Linked DNA regions of Homo sapiens: region 2 is linked to region 1. Evidence: promoter capture Hi-C in human tissues and cell types (Jung and others, 2019). All regions are on one chromosome and are shown on one strand. The core of a region is centred on a gene start or on the middle of the fragment in contact, and the rest is flanking DNA. Distances in the headings are between cores, read along the strand shown.

The links. The method cuts DNA at HindIII sites, captures the fragments that hold promoters and counts their contacts. A contact is called where the count stands out against the background at its distance.
Region 2: a fragment that was not itself captured here is called in contact with the fragment with the promoter of ESCO1 in region 1 in 2 of the 25 tissues and cell types used here (aorta and mesenchymal stem cells).

What each region holds. Positions count from the first base shown.
Region 1 is chr18:21,596,999-21,603,339 of GRCh38, forward strand. It overlaps ESCO1 (establishment of sister chromatid cohesion N-acetyltransferase 1), which reads right to left and starts at 3,706. Exons shown (of 12, transcript NM_052911.3): 1 at 3,625-3,706. RefSeq lists enhancers at 2,050-2,344, 3,412-3,931, 5,256-5,335. The HindIII fragment of the contact is 11,871 bases long and covers 1-6,341 here.
Region 2 is chr18:21,357,948-21,364,288 of GRCh38, forward strand. The region is part of intron 1 of GREB1L (GREB1 like retinoic acid receptor coactivator); the gene reads left to right. Among named protein-coding and RNA genes, the nearest start is that of GREB1L-AS1, 90 kb to the right of the region's middle. The HindIII fragment of the contact is 4,057 bases long and covers 2,043-6,099 here.

The DNA of each region.
Region 1 (6,341 bases), core at 2,456-4,955:
CCTGAGATCAAAATCATACGAGAGCAAAAGATTAAAAGTACAAAACAGACCAATGAATTCTAATGCAACAGAATGCAAAACACATGTAGACATGGTTTCAGATTCTACATCACAACTAACCTTTAAGAAATTACCACTTGTTAAGTTTTGTTGCAGAATCAGAGTATTACAACTATCTGAAAAAGCTAAAATACCCCACCCAACATACTGGTCATAAACTTCAACCAGAAACATATATAGCAACAGATTGATAGGAAAATCCAGCTGTCTTCTATCAAGGCCAAACATTAAGGAGATTTACAAAAATGTAATACCATCACCATTCCTTCACTAACTTATTTTGGAATATAGTTTTTCATTAAAATGTTATTTATTAAATATATTAAGCTGGGTATGCACACCTGTAGTCCCACCTATTTGGGAGGCTGAGGCAAGAGGATCACTTCAGCCCAAGAGCTCAAGGCCAGCCTGGGCAACACAGTGAGCCACTGTTACTAAAAAAAAAAAAAAATTTAATTAAAATTAAAATGTTATTTATATTAAGCTGTAGTTTAATTATTTCAAATGAATTAATATATATGAAATTAATTCCTAATACAGTAACTATCAATAGATATAAACCTATATAAACAAAAGCTACTTGGAGTCCTACATAATTTTTAAGAGTGTAAGGGGATCCTAAGACCAAAAAGTTTGAGAACCACTACATTAAAGTAATACTTAATACCACCTTTTAATTTACCCTCTGAGTTTTTGTGTGAATCTTACACGTGCTGCCATAAATGTCTAAAGGAAGCTGAACAGAGCAGAGGATATAAATCTTCCTTTAAGCATTGTAATGCAATCAAGCATAAGATGTATATGCCCCTTCCCCTCAGGAAAAGACAAGACATGATGGCTGGGTTAACAGAATGCTCTTATTTGCCAAAAGTAACTACAGTATTATAATACAGCTATAATACAGAACTTATACAGGAAAAACAGAACCAAAGGATTTTCATTGAATGATCCACAGAAAAATATGAAAGTCAGGGTTACAAAAGGGGTAATATAGTCCTTAATTATCTACAGTAACAATTTTACTGGAGTTGGTTTCTAGTACCTAAATTTTAATCACCTTCAATAGAAGGTATTCCAAGAACTCTATGTGGTACAAAAATCTGCCAATAAAAGTCATGAAAAAATATTTAACTATTACAAAAAAATCCATTATTCGAACTGTGCAGCGCTGGTCACGTTCATTAACAGAATAAATACAATCAGCTCTGCATAATAAATTACCAAGCTAAAAAGGACTATCTGGCAAAAGAAGTTAATGGCATTCATTAATTAGGGTACTTTTTTAGTTATTCTGTGAAGCATAATTTATCAATTTAAATGCCAGCACCTTGTATGGGACGGACATTAAAAAAATTACTTGGCCGGGCATGGTGGCTCACGCCTGTAATCCCAGCACTTTGGGAGGCCGAGGCAGGCGGATCACCTGAGGTCAGGAGTTCAAGACCAGCCTGGCCAACACGGTGAAACCCTATCTCTACTAAAAATACAAAAAAATTAGCCGGGCATGGTGGCACTTGTCTGTAATCCCAGCTACTCGGGAGGCCGAGGCAGGAGAATCACTTGAACCCAGGAGGCGGAGATTGCAGTGAGCCGAGATCTCGCCACTGCCCTCCAGCCCGGACGACAGAGTGAGACTCCATCTCAAAAAAAAAAAACAAACAATTACTTGTTCACTACAGGATTATAATATTGATTGAGAAAGGTGAGACAATAGCATATTTTCCTCAGTTAGCAATGATAAAGGAGTTCTAGCTCGTAAGCCAGGACAAATTTTGGAATTGTGCTTCCAAAGTCACATATCTGACCCAACAGTGATACTCTGCATTCTGCCTAAAAGGGAAAAAGTGGCTCTATTACAGTCCTAGTTTCCTCATTTCCTCACATGCTCTAGGCCTGAATTTGCGACTTCCAAATTAAGCACGTTTTAAAGCACTTCTCATCCTACTCCCATGTCTAATTCCATTGATTAGATTTTTTGCTTTTCAAAAAAAAAAAAAAATTCACCAGGCACAGTGGCTCAGGCCTGTAATCCCAGCACTTTTGGAGGCCCAGGTGATCACTTGATCCCAGGAGTTCGAGACCAGCCTGGGCAACATGGCGAAACGCCGTCTCAACAACAAATAGAAAACTTAGCCTAACATGGTAGCGGACGCCTGTAGTCTCAGCCACTCAGGGAGGCGGAGGTGGGAGGATTGCTTGGGGCCGGGGAGGGAGGTCAAGGCTGCAGTGAACAGTGATTACACCACTGCAATCCAGTCTGGGCGACAGAGCGAGACCCCGTCTCAAAATAAAATAATAACTTAAAACTTTATTCGTGTTGGTGTCCTGTGTAAAGCAGAAACTAAGTACTTGACCAGAAGACAAAGTGAATATAGCATAGTTCACTGCAACCTGGATGTTTTCAACTGAAATCTATGTTTTATCCACTTTTTTAAAAAAGCCAATGCTGGTGGGGGGACTAACCACACCTTATGCCACCAAGTAGCGCTTTTGTTTCCTGCGAAGCTTATTTATTGAGATATCGTTTTGTAATACTATCTAGATACTGTGTGCTGCGATTCCTGTTTAAAGGAATCTCATTGCAGCTAAGACTACAGAAAACATGGTTCATAGTACTTCTCAAATCGCAAAGCTTGAGCTCCTTCCTCCTCCTCTTCCTCCCTCCCCTGGTCCCCGCTGCGTCCCCATCGCCCCGGAAAATAAAGCACACGCCGGATTTTCGGACGCATCATTGAGAGGCGGAGGGAGAGGAGGTAGTCTTCGAATTGTTGGACTTGCTATCCCATTCTGCCTGTGCAAAATAAACCCCCATAGTAAAATAATCTTAACCCGTGATAAAAATCGAGGACCCAATTCTCTTTGGTTCGCCTCTCTCCATCGCTATAAACTTCACTGCGGCCCTCAATGCACTCATTTCTACTCCAGAGCCGCCCTACCTGTGCCGAGACCCCCATTTGCAGCATGAGTTACTCTATGACCTTGGGCCCGCTCCCCTCCCAAACTGAAGGCTGTAAAACCAAGACCCCACATCGCGCCCCGCAAACTGCAGAGGCCTCCAGGCTCAGGCCGGGTCAGCGGGTTGCGCCAGGAGGCGGCGAGGGACTGGCTCCGGTGAAGCGCCGGGAAGAGAAAACGCAGGGGGCGGAGACGGGGCCCGGAGCTACCTGCGGGACCAGCACTGGCGCTGCCCCGGTGCTAGCAATGGCTGCGCGCCACCTCGGGGCTCCCGGAGCCCTCGCGGCAGTGCTGGGAACTCCGGCCCTGCCCCGTCGGCGGTCACGACCCCTTATGAACTTCGACCGCCCAGCAAACAGCGGCAGGTGGTGCGCGGACACGCGAGCACGTTAGCTGCCTACCTCAAGCGACGGCGTCTTGGAGCCTAGAGCCTCCCACCTCCCTCCCAGGGGCGCGAAGAGCTGGGACCGGAGCAGTAGGAAGGGGCGTGCGAGGCAACACGCCACCGAGGGTGGAACAGGAAGAGGGAGAACTGTCCGCTCCCTGAAGGGGCTGGCAAAAGAGAGGTGAAGACACAGGCGGCGGGGACCGTCAGGGACGCTCGCGTACCTTCCTTTTGCCTGGCGGAGGGTCAGACTAGCGCCAGCGGATCGCCTCACATCCGGGTATCAGGAGACACTCAGCTGCTTCTGCTGCGGCCGCCGCCTCCCCCGCGGCGCAAACACCAAACTTCCGGCGACGACGGCGACGCCTCGCTCGTCAGATGGGAGTTACCTGTGACCGTCTTGGGTGCGCTTGCGCAACGCTCCTCTTCAGCCCTAACCGGCTCAGCTGACGTGCCCAGAAGACGAAGATGGCCGCCACGCTCACTGCGTGTCACGCAGTTTTTCACCCCGGCCCGGACGGCTGGGCGTCGAGGAAAGGCGAGCTAGTGTCCATCCTCAGCGCAGGCGCGGTGGGAGGCCTAGCGCGCGCGCCTCCGCGGGTGGTCGCCTGGCAGGGAAGTGGCGGCGCCCCCTAGCGGCGGCCGCTTGTCGTTCCTGGGGTCATCGCTTTGAGCTGAAAACCACCCAGGCCCCCAGCGGTTGTGGTTTACCTTGGAAATTTGTCGCAACTGGTTGCCATGTAGGTTTTGGCTGCTTCTGTCTGCGATGTATAATCCAAGTGCCTTTGGTCTTCCATATGAGCCAATGTAAAGAAGGAGGGTGGGGCCGGGCGCGGTGGTTCACGCCTGTAATCCCAGCACTTTGGGAAGCAGAGGCGGGTGGATCATTTGAGGTTAGGAGTTCGAGACCAGCCTGGCCAACATGGCCAACATGGTGAAACCCCGTCTCTACTAGAAATACAAAAATTAGCCGGGTGGTAGTGGCGTGCGACTGTAATCCCAGCTACTCGAGAGGCTGAGGCGGGAGAATCCCTTGAGCCTGGGAGGCGGAGGTTGTGGTGAGCTGAGACTGGGCCACTGCACTCTAGTCTGGACGAGTGAGACCCTGTCTCAAATAAAAAAAAAAGGAGGGTGCAGTCCCTACACTGCCCTCCAGCACCTCCAAAAAATGCAGGGCTTCGCCCTCTCCTTGCACACTTTCTTCCTGTGTATCAGAGTGCAAGAATCATCAGAAATTGTAAAATATTCTGCTAGACTTAGTCAGACTGAGTGTTCAGACAAAGCTTTGGCTCGCTCTTGGACGCCTCTAGAGATAGAATCCAAGATTCTATCACTAGGATTCATGGTTCCCACACTTCTTTCTTTTGTGACAGGAAGGATCTTGCTGTGTAGCCCTGGCTGGTGTGCAGTGGCACAGTAACGGCTCACTGCAGCCTCGACTTGGGCTCAAGCGATCCCACCTGCCTCAGCCTCCCTGAGAACTGCATGTATGAAGCCCACGACACCATGCCAGGCTAATTTTTTTTTTTTTTTTTGAGATGGAGTCTCACTCTTGTCACCCAGGCTAGAGTGCAATGGCACGATCTCGGCTCACTGCAACCTCCGCCTCCCAGGTTCAAGGAATTCTCCTGCCTCAGCCTCCTGAGTAGCTGGGACTACAGGTGCCTGCCACCATGCCCGGCTAATTTTTTATTTTTAGTAGAGACGGGGTTTCACCATCTTGGCCAGGCTGGTCTCGAACTTCTGACCTTGTGATCCCACCTGCCTCGGCCTCCCAAAGTGCTGGGATTACAGGCGTAAGCCACCGCGCCCGGCCGCCAGGCTAATTTTTTTATATTTTGTAGGGATAAGGTCTCACTGAGACCAGCCCAGGCTGATCTCGAACTCCTGGCCTCAAGTGATCCTCTCTTCTCTCCTTGGCTTCCCAAAGCGCTGGGACTACAGGCCTAAGCCACTGCTCCGGCTACTAGACTGCTTTTGAACATATGTTCTGTGCTACCCTTTGCTTATTTGCGGAACTGTGAGGCTAGTTCGGTACTTCTGCATTTCAGAATGGGAAGAGGTGATCATAAATGGGTTTTCCCCTTCCTGCCCTCCTTCTTTGAAGCCAAGTACAACCAAAATGTGCTCTAAGTTTGTCAAACCTGATGTTTTTCTGACAATTCATCTTCCACGAATAGTGAGCTGCCTGTCAGTTTGCGCAGGGAGATGTTATGGCTTAAAAACAAAAACGAGGCTGGGCGCAGTGGCTCACGTTTGTAATCCCAGCTGTTTGGGAGGTATTGATGGGTGAGGCCATTCTTCACATTACCATAGTTGTGTTACTTGGCAAAGACCTGTCCGCTGCTTCCACCTTCAGCTCCAGTCCCTGATACACACTTTAATGACATATGCCAAACAGCTCAAATTGGGGGCGGGGGGTGGGGCGGGGGAACAGGAGTAAACTACTGGTCTGGTTAAAAGCTGGTTATTTATCAGGAGACCTGACCTATGTTTCCCTTCATCTTCGTCTTCTGATTGCCAGACAACTGGTGGGACTTCTTTTGGTTGGATAAACTACTTTGTCTATAGTAATTCAAATTCTGGCATACAAAGAAACCATATTTATGAGTGTCGATTCTCACAAAATAGGCCTCTGCTTCTGAGTAGTCTATTCCACTCTATGTGCTAAATTGGCCTCAATCAGGAGCATAGGAATTCGTGCAAATATCAGACCATATGAAATCATAGCCCTCCGGCCAGGAGCCTAGGCCATAGCAGCTTGTTGCTCTGCTGACCCTGGTGTCTGATCCCAGCCAGTGGCCTTAAAAAAACAAGAAACGAAATAAATCATGTATTTTCGATACATAATTCATGCCTGCAATTTATGCTGTATTTTCTTTTTTTTTTTTTTTTTTTTGAGACAGAGTCTTGCTCTGTTGCCCAGGTTGGAGTGTTGTGG
Region 2 (6,341 bases), core at 2,821-5,320, 240 kb before region 1:
TTTTGTTGTTCCATATAAATTTTACGATTATTTTTTCTATTTCTGAGAAAAATGTGTTGGAATTTTGATAGGAATTGCATTGAATCTGAAGACTGCTTTGGGTAATATGGGCATTTAAACAATATTCATTTTTTAAATCCATAAACACAAGATATCTTTCCATTTATTTGTGTCTTCAATTAATGTTTTATAGTTTTCAGTGTACAGACCTTTCACCTCCTTGGTTAAATGTATTCCTAAATTTTTTTTTTATTTTGTAGCTATTATAAATAAGATTTTTTTCCATTTCTTTTTTGGATAATTTGTGGTTAGCATATAGAAATGCTGATTTTTGAGGAAAAACAGTTATTGTATGTTCTCTTTATTTATTTATGTAGAGACGGAGTCTTGCTCTATCACCCAGGCTAGAGTGGAGTGGAGTGCAGTCGTGAGATCTCAGCTCGCTGCAAGCTCCGCCTCCTGGGTTCAAGCGATTCTCCTGCCTCAGCCTCCTGAGTAGCTGGGACTACAGGCGCCTGCCACCACACCCGGCTAATTTTTTGTATTTTTAGTGGAGATGGGGTTTCACTGTGTTAGCCAGTATGGTCTTGATCTCCTGACCTCGTGATCCGCCCACCTCGGCCTCCCAAAGTGCTGGGATTACAGGCATGAGCCACCGCGCCCAGCCTGTTCTCACTTATAAGTGTCAGCTAAGCTGTGAGGACACAAAGGTGTAAGAATAATATAATGGACTTTGGGGGAAAGGTTGGGAGTGGGGGTGAAAGATAAAAGACTACACATTGGGTAGCGTGTACACTGCTCAGGTGACGGGTGCACCGAAATCGCAGAAATCACCACTAAAGAACTTATTTATGTAACCAGAAACTACCTGCTCACTAAAAACTGTTGAAATAAAATGAAAAGATAATAACTTCACAGAATAAAAGAAAAAGAAGAAATGCTGATTTTGTATGTTGATTTTGTATCAACTTTACTGAATTCGTTTATTAGTTCTAACAATTGTTTGGTGGAATCTTAAGGTTTTCTATGTACAAGATCATGTCATCTGCAGAGACCACCATAAATGTTTTCAATCTAGAAGTGTATTACTTTTATCTTCATTTTATGGATAAGGAAATGGCGGCCCAGGGAAGATAGGTGTCTTGGCCATGGTTACTCGGGCAGATTTGGGAACTGCACAACTTGAGTATCCAAATATTTTCATGCTACATTAATAAGAAATCAGGGGCTGGGCACAATGGCTCACGCCTGTAATCCCAGCACTTTGGGAGGCCAAGGCGGATTATGAGGTCAGGAGTTCGAGACCAGCCTGGCCAACATGGTGAAATCCCGTTTCTACTAAAAATACAAAAATTAGCTGGGCGTGGTGGCAGGCGCCTGTAATCCCAGCTACTTGGGAGGCTGAGGCAGGAGAATCATTTGAACCCAGGAGGTGGAGGTTGCAGTGAGCCGAGATTGTGCCATTGCACTCCAGGCTGGGTGACAGGATGAGACTCCATCTCAAAAAAAAATAAATAAATAAAATCAAGAACTACTCAGTCAAGTCTTATTCAAGTTAGTATTCCCTTAGGTATCACTTTCTTTGGTATTAGACTTCAAAGTGATAATATACATTTTATAGCACATTTCCAGTTTTTAGCATTGTCATTTTGAAGTATAGTGTCACGACTTGAGGAACTGCGTCTCATCTCCATTCAGTTCTCCTAAGACTTGATTCCTACCAGACAGGAACTGCTTCTTCTTTGAGGTCTAAATAGCACTTAACAGTCTATTGCACTGAATAAATACTTAATGAAGATTGGATATTTCCTCTGTGGTACATCAATTACTCTTGTTGACTGTTGAGGAAAGCTTCTTTTTGTTATGGTTGTTTTCATGAAGTAGGTTAAGAAATTTGTTTTCTTGAATATTGTTACTAATGCCAGTTTAGATATTTGTGTCATCTCAAATATATCATCTCAAATGTGTCATCTGAGAGTCACTGATCTGGTTGCATGCAATAAAGTAATTTGGTAGGAGGGTTGTTTTTTCTGGAATTTGTGGTATTTAGGGCTCTGAAAATGAAAAACATTTGCTAATGTGGTATAAGGATGTTTGTGGTGTATTTTTTAATGGAAGAAATATAACTTTTATTGATAAATACTTCCAAAATTGTGAATAATTCTTTCAGTTGACAGTTATATTTCTTGTATTTTAAACTATCAGTCATATATTTATTTTTCTTATTTTTAAGCTTTCTTAACTTAAAACAAAGGGTTTTTGTTTTTGTTTTATTATTATTATTTCTTTGAGACGAAGTCTCGCTCTGTCATCCAGGCTGGAGTGCAGTGACACGATCTCGGCTCCCTGCAACCTCCGCCTCCCGGGTTCAAGCAATTCTCCTGCCTCAGCCTCCTAAGTAGCTGGGAGTACAGGTGCTTGCCACCACACCTAGCTAATTTTTTTTTTTTGTATTTTTAGTAGAGATGGCGTTTCGCCATGTTGGCCAGCCTGGTCTCAAACTCCTCACCTTAGGTGATCCACTCGCCTCGGCCTCCCAAAGTGCTGGGATTACAGGCACGAGCCACTGCACCCGGTGACTGATATTAGGATTAAATGAAATACATATATCTTTGCCTATGGAGTCTCTAAACTTATGAATTTAGTGAAATAGCTTGAACATTTTCAACTGGTAAAATTAGATCACTATAGTTGAATCATTTGGTGCAAAGTGTTAATGTGACATTGAGATAGAATTTATCAGACTCAATTAGAAAAACTCCTCTCATTTAAATAAAACAAAAAATTGAATACGTAGAGAAAAGGTTATACATGCTTTTTATTCTCTTTCCATTTTAGAAAGCAAATGAACATAATTATGAAATAGGTAAGTCATGCCTAATGATAAAATATCCTCCATTTTTAAGGAATAATTTCACTGTGTTTCACATTTGGTGACTTCTGGGATCTATATTTCCATTTAAATAACTGTTGACATTGTTGGAAAATTGGTGAGTGTATGTGATGACAGTTACAGTACATATTGGATAACAAGGGTAGAATAAATCAGTTAAGTCGTGGTGGTCTGTTATCTATTTTTAGGTCTTTTTGACCCAGGAGTCTGTGACCTATGAAATCTCCACTTTTTTGGATTTGTTAAGGTATTTTACAATGCAAAGATTTAAATTTAGATGAGTACCACACTGAAGGATACTGGCTAATGTGGTCCAAAACATAAAGGATATCAAAGTATACACTGGGAAAAGCTTGTGAAGTTCCGATAACGTATGTGAGAAGAGAGAGGCTACAGTTAAGGAAGTTTCTTTTCTGCTCTAACTTATAACAAAGAGAATCTGAAATTTAAGCTGGTATTTGCCATGCTCTGAGTACTCAGCAGCATGCCATTTTGTGAAATTATTGCTGAGAAAATGTACCCAAATCTTGAGTACAGAGTGTTCCTGCATCTGATTGGAAGGGGCACATGAATTGTTTCTAAGGTATTGCAGACCCAAGGCTGCACAAATTAAGGTGGAGACTTGGGGGAGGGATCCAGTCAGGGAAGGGAAGCTTCCTAGACATTACAGCTCTGTCCAGAGGCCAAATGGGAGATAAATCACCACTGGCCACCTCTCTTATTATTGAAATGGTACAGCCCTGGGGTTTAACTGAAGGACTGACAGGGTTTTGAAGTGCAAATAGAATGGTGAAGAGTAAACCCTTTTAGGGTTTCATTTTGATGGATTTTTTTTTCCTGTGTGGATTTCTGGTACAGACTGTGATCTGGAAGGGGCCCTTAAAAAAAAAAAAGTTTTGTTTTTGATCAGTCAGACAATAAGAACTTTCCACAGGGATGTACTTTTCTAGCATGCATATTGATTCTATTGTGTTTTAAAGTAGATCATTTAATTGGATCTTTTTTTGAGCCTTCTGCAGTGGAGCTGTCATTTCAAGGTCACTTCTCTTTCTTGTTATTAATGCCAGAGTTTGAAAGTGTTGAATGATGTGGTAGTTTTGGATTAATAGATTGTGGGAGATTACTTAGGGCCAGTGTGTATAAGGCTTTGTTTATAAAGTCTCCTAGTTAAAGATCCAGTCCATATTAGAACAAGTATTTTATATAAGTGTTCTATAATTATTTAATCTTTTTTCTATTGTGATATGATTTTACATACTCATTTTATTATTTTGTATGTATTCTACTTTGCCAGCCTTAAAAAAAACCCAGAAAATTCTGAGATTATGAAATATTATACTGTTATTTATGAAAGATACATTGAAGTGTTTGAGGAAATAAGAGAGACATAAAAATGTTTAAGTAACTGATATGTTGATTTATATAAGTTGAAATTTTTTTAACCTCCTCCCCACAAGTAATTCAATCACAGGAGACAAAATATATTTTAAAATTTGTGTTTTTTTTGGAAAGTGGGGAGGAGAGGAGTCATTAGTAACCCCAAAGAAAAATGATTGTAGCATAACTTAAAGACTTTGTGTGCAAACATTTTAGAGAAAAAAATATTTTTATTAAAGAAATGCCATTATAAGTATTTAGATTTCTTCTTAGAAATATTGTCAATGGAAATTTTCTTAAGCATTTTGGCTCTTTTCTTTAGATGTAACATAAATATTTGTATCATTTGCCCTTTTTGAGAAGAATAATGTATTTAGCTCCAACAGAGGTTTTCCTGTGTTGCTCGATATCTATTCTAAAAACGGGTTGTTAATCTCCATAATTGGCATTGACCACATGATGTTCTTAATTGACCTCCAGGTTAGTTTTTGTTTTTATGTTCTTCGAAATTTCCCCTTCACTGTATTTGTCTGAATGTTAGAGTTATATTTACTTCCTATTCTGTCTGATAGTTTTAAATAAGATGTTTTAAACAACAGTCACAACGAAAGTCCTAGAACCTAGATGGCATCAAGCAGAGTCTCCTGCATCTACAGCTTCCCTGTCATTAGTTTGTTGCTGGGAGATGTTAATATGACCTTTCCTTTGTTAGAAAAGAGCTGTGCAGCCCTTCCCAGAATCCTCTTGTAAAATGTCTTTTTAACCCAAGTTGGAGGTTGTCTGATGAATGGTTGGCTTTTTCAAATGTGCTGCACATATTGTTGACATTGTCACAGGTTGCTTTTTAATTTCTAATGTGTTTTTAATTTGCAAAGCATGCATGTGCCTTTCACCGCAGTAGAATTGAGTCAGCATTTCTGAGTCCAGATATTAAGAGTCAGGCTTAAGAATGCTGTATGGTAGACTTAGATTTCCTGAAACACTTGTGAATGAATTTCACTTTGAATATTGATGAATAAAAGAAGATACTTGAGAAAGGCTCCCCCTGCCCCCACTCCGCCTCCCCCCCGCCCCCCCCCCCCCACACACACAAGAACTCCTCCTGCCTATTGGTGAGTGAATTGCCCCGATATAAAAGCATTGGGTGGGGAAAAGTGAGTTACAGAGTGAAAAGGCAATCCACAAATAATCACTCTTTTCTGCCTTTGATTGTGTCAGATTTTTTTTGTGTGTGTGGCAATTGTTTTCTTTTTTGCTTAGAAGAGGTTTATGGTCCAATGTCTGTCAAGTCAGCCCCTGTCTTAAGCTTGCAGTTGTATTTCTCTCTGGAGTTCCTGGAGGTGATGTTATCTTTTGTTCACTCAGCAGTGTGGTCGTTTCTGAGAGCATCTGTCACTTTAGGCATTACAAGATGGATGGGTCTCCAGTGAACTGCTGGTTGAAGCAAATGGTGAAAATAAGAAAATCAAGGGGTTTCAGGGTCTGCAGAGGGGACAGACAACAAGGAAACACTGTTAGAAATCAAGAGTAAGCTGAGCAATAGAGGAAGAGAGCAAAGATGGATCAGATGTCATTTTATAAACATCTTGGAAATCAGAATCTTTTGGTGGCTTTCGTGATCTGAGGGAGACATCTGCATCATGGTAAACAATTCCATGCTTTGGATTTGCAAAATGTGTTTGAATATATATTTTTTAATCTTGATAAAGTATTGGGAAATAATCATAATGATACAGAATATATTATGTGAGGATTTTGCTGTTTGGAGAATTAGTAGTCTTTTAAATGTTTTAAAGATTAAATTAGAAATCTAACCTTAAAATTTTTGTTTTTTCTTTTTTTCTTTCCTTCCTCTTTTTTTCTAAATTTTCTTTTTGTAAACAAGTGAGCAAGCATAGACATTAAAATGAAAAGTTTTGGCCACATAACTAATATTCTTATTGTTTACTAAATGCTTTTTGGCACTTTTGTAGAGGAATTCTGAAAATTCAGTGCTCAGGCTTTTGGGAGGCTGGGGACAGATTTTAAGTTATTTTCAGTAACCTTCAACTTAAGGGGCTCTTTGGTCAAA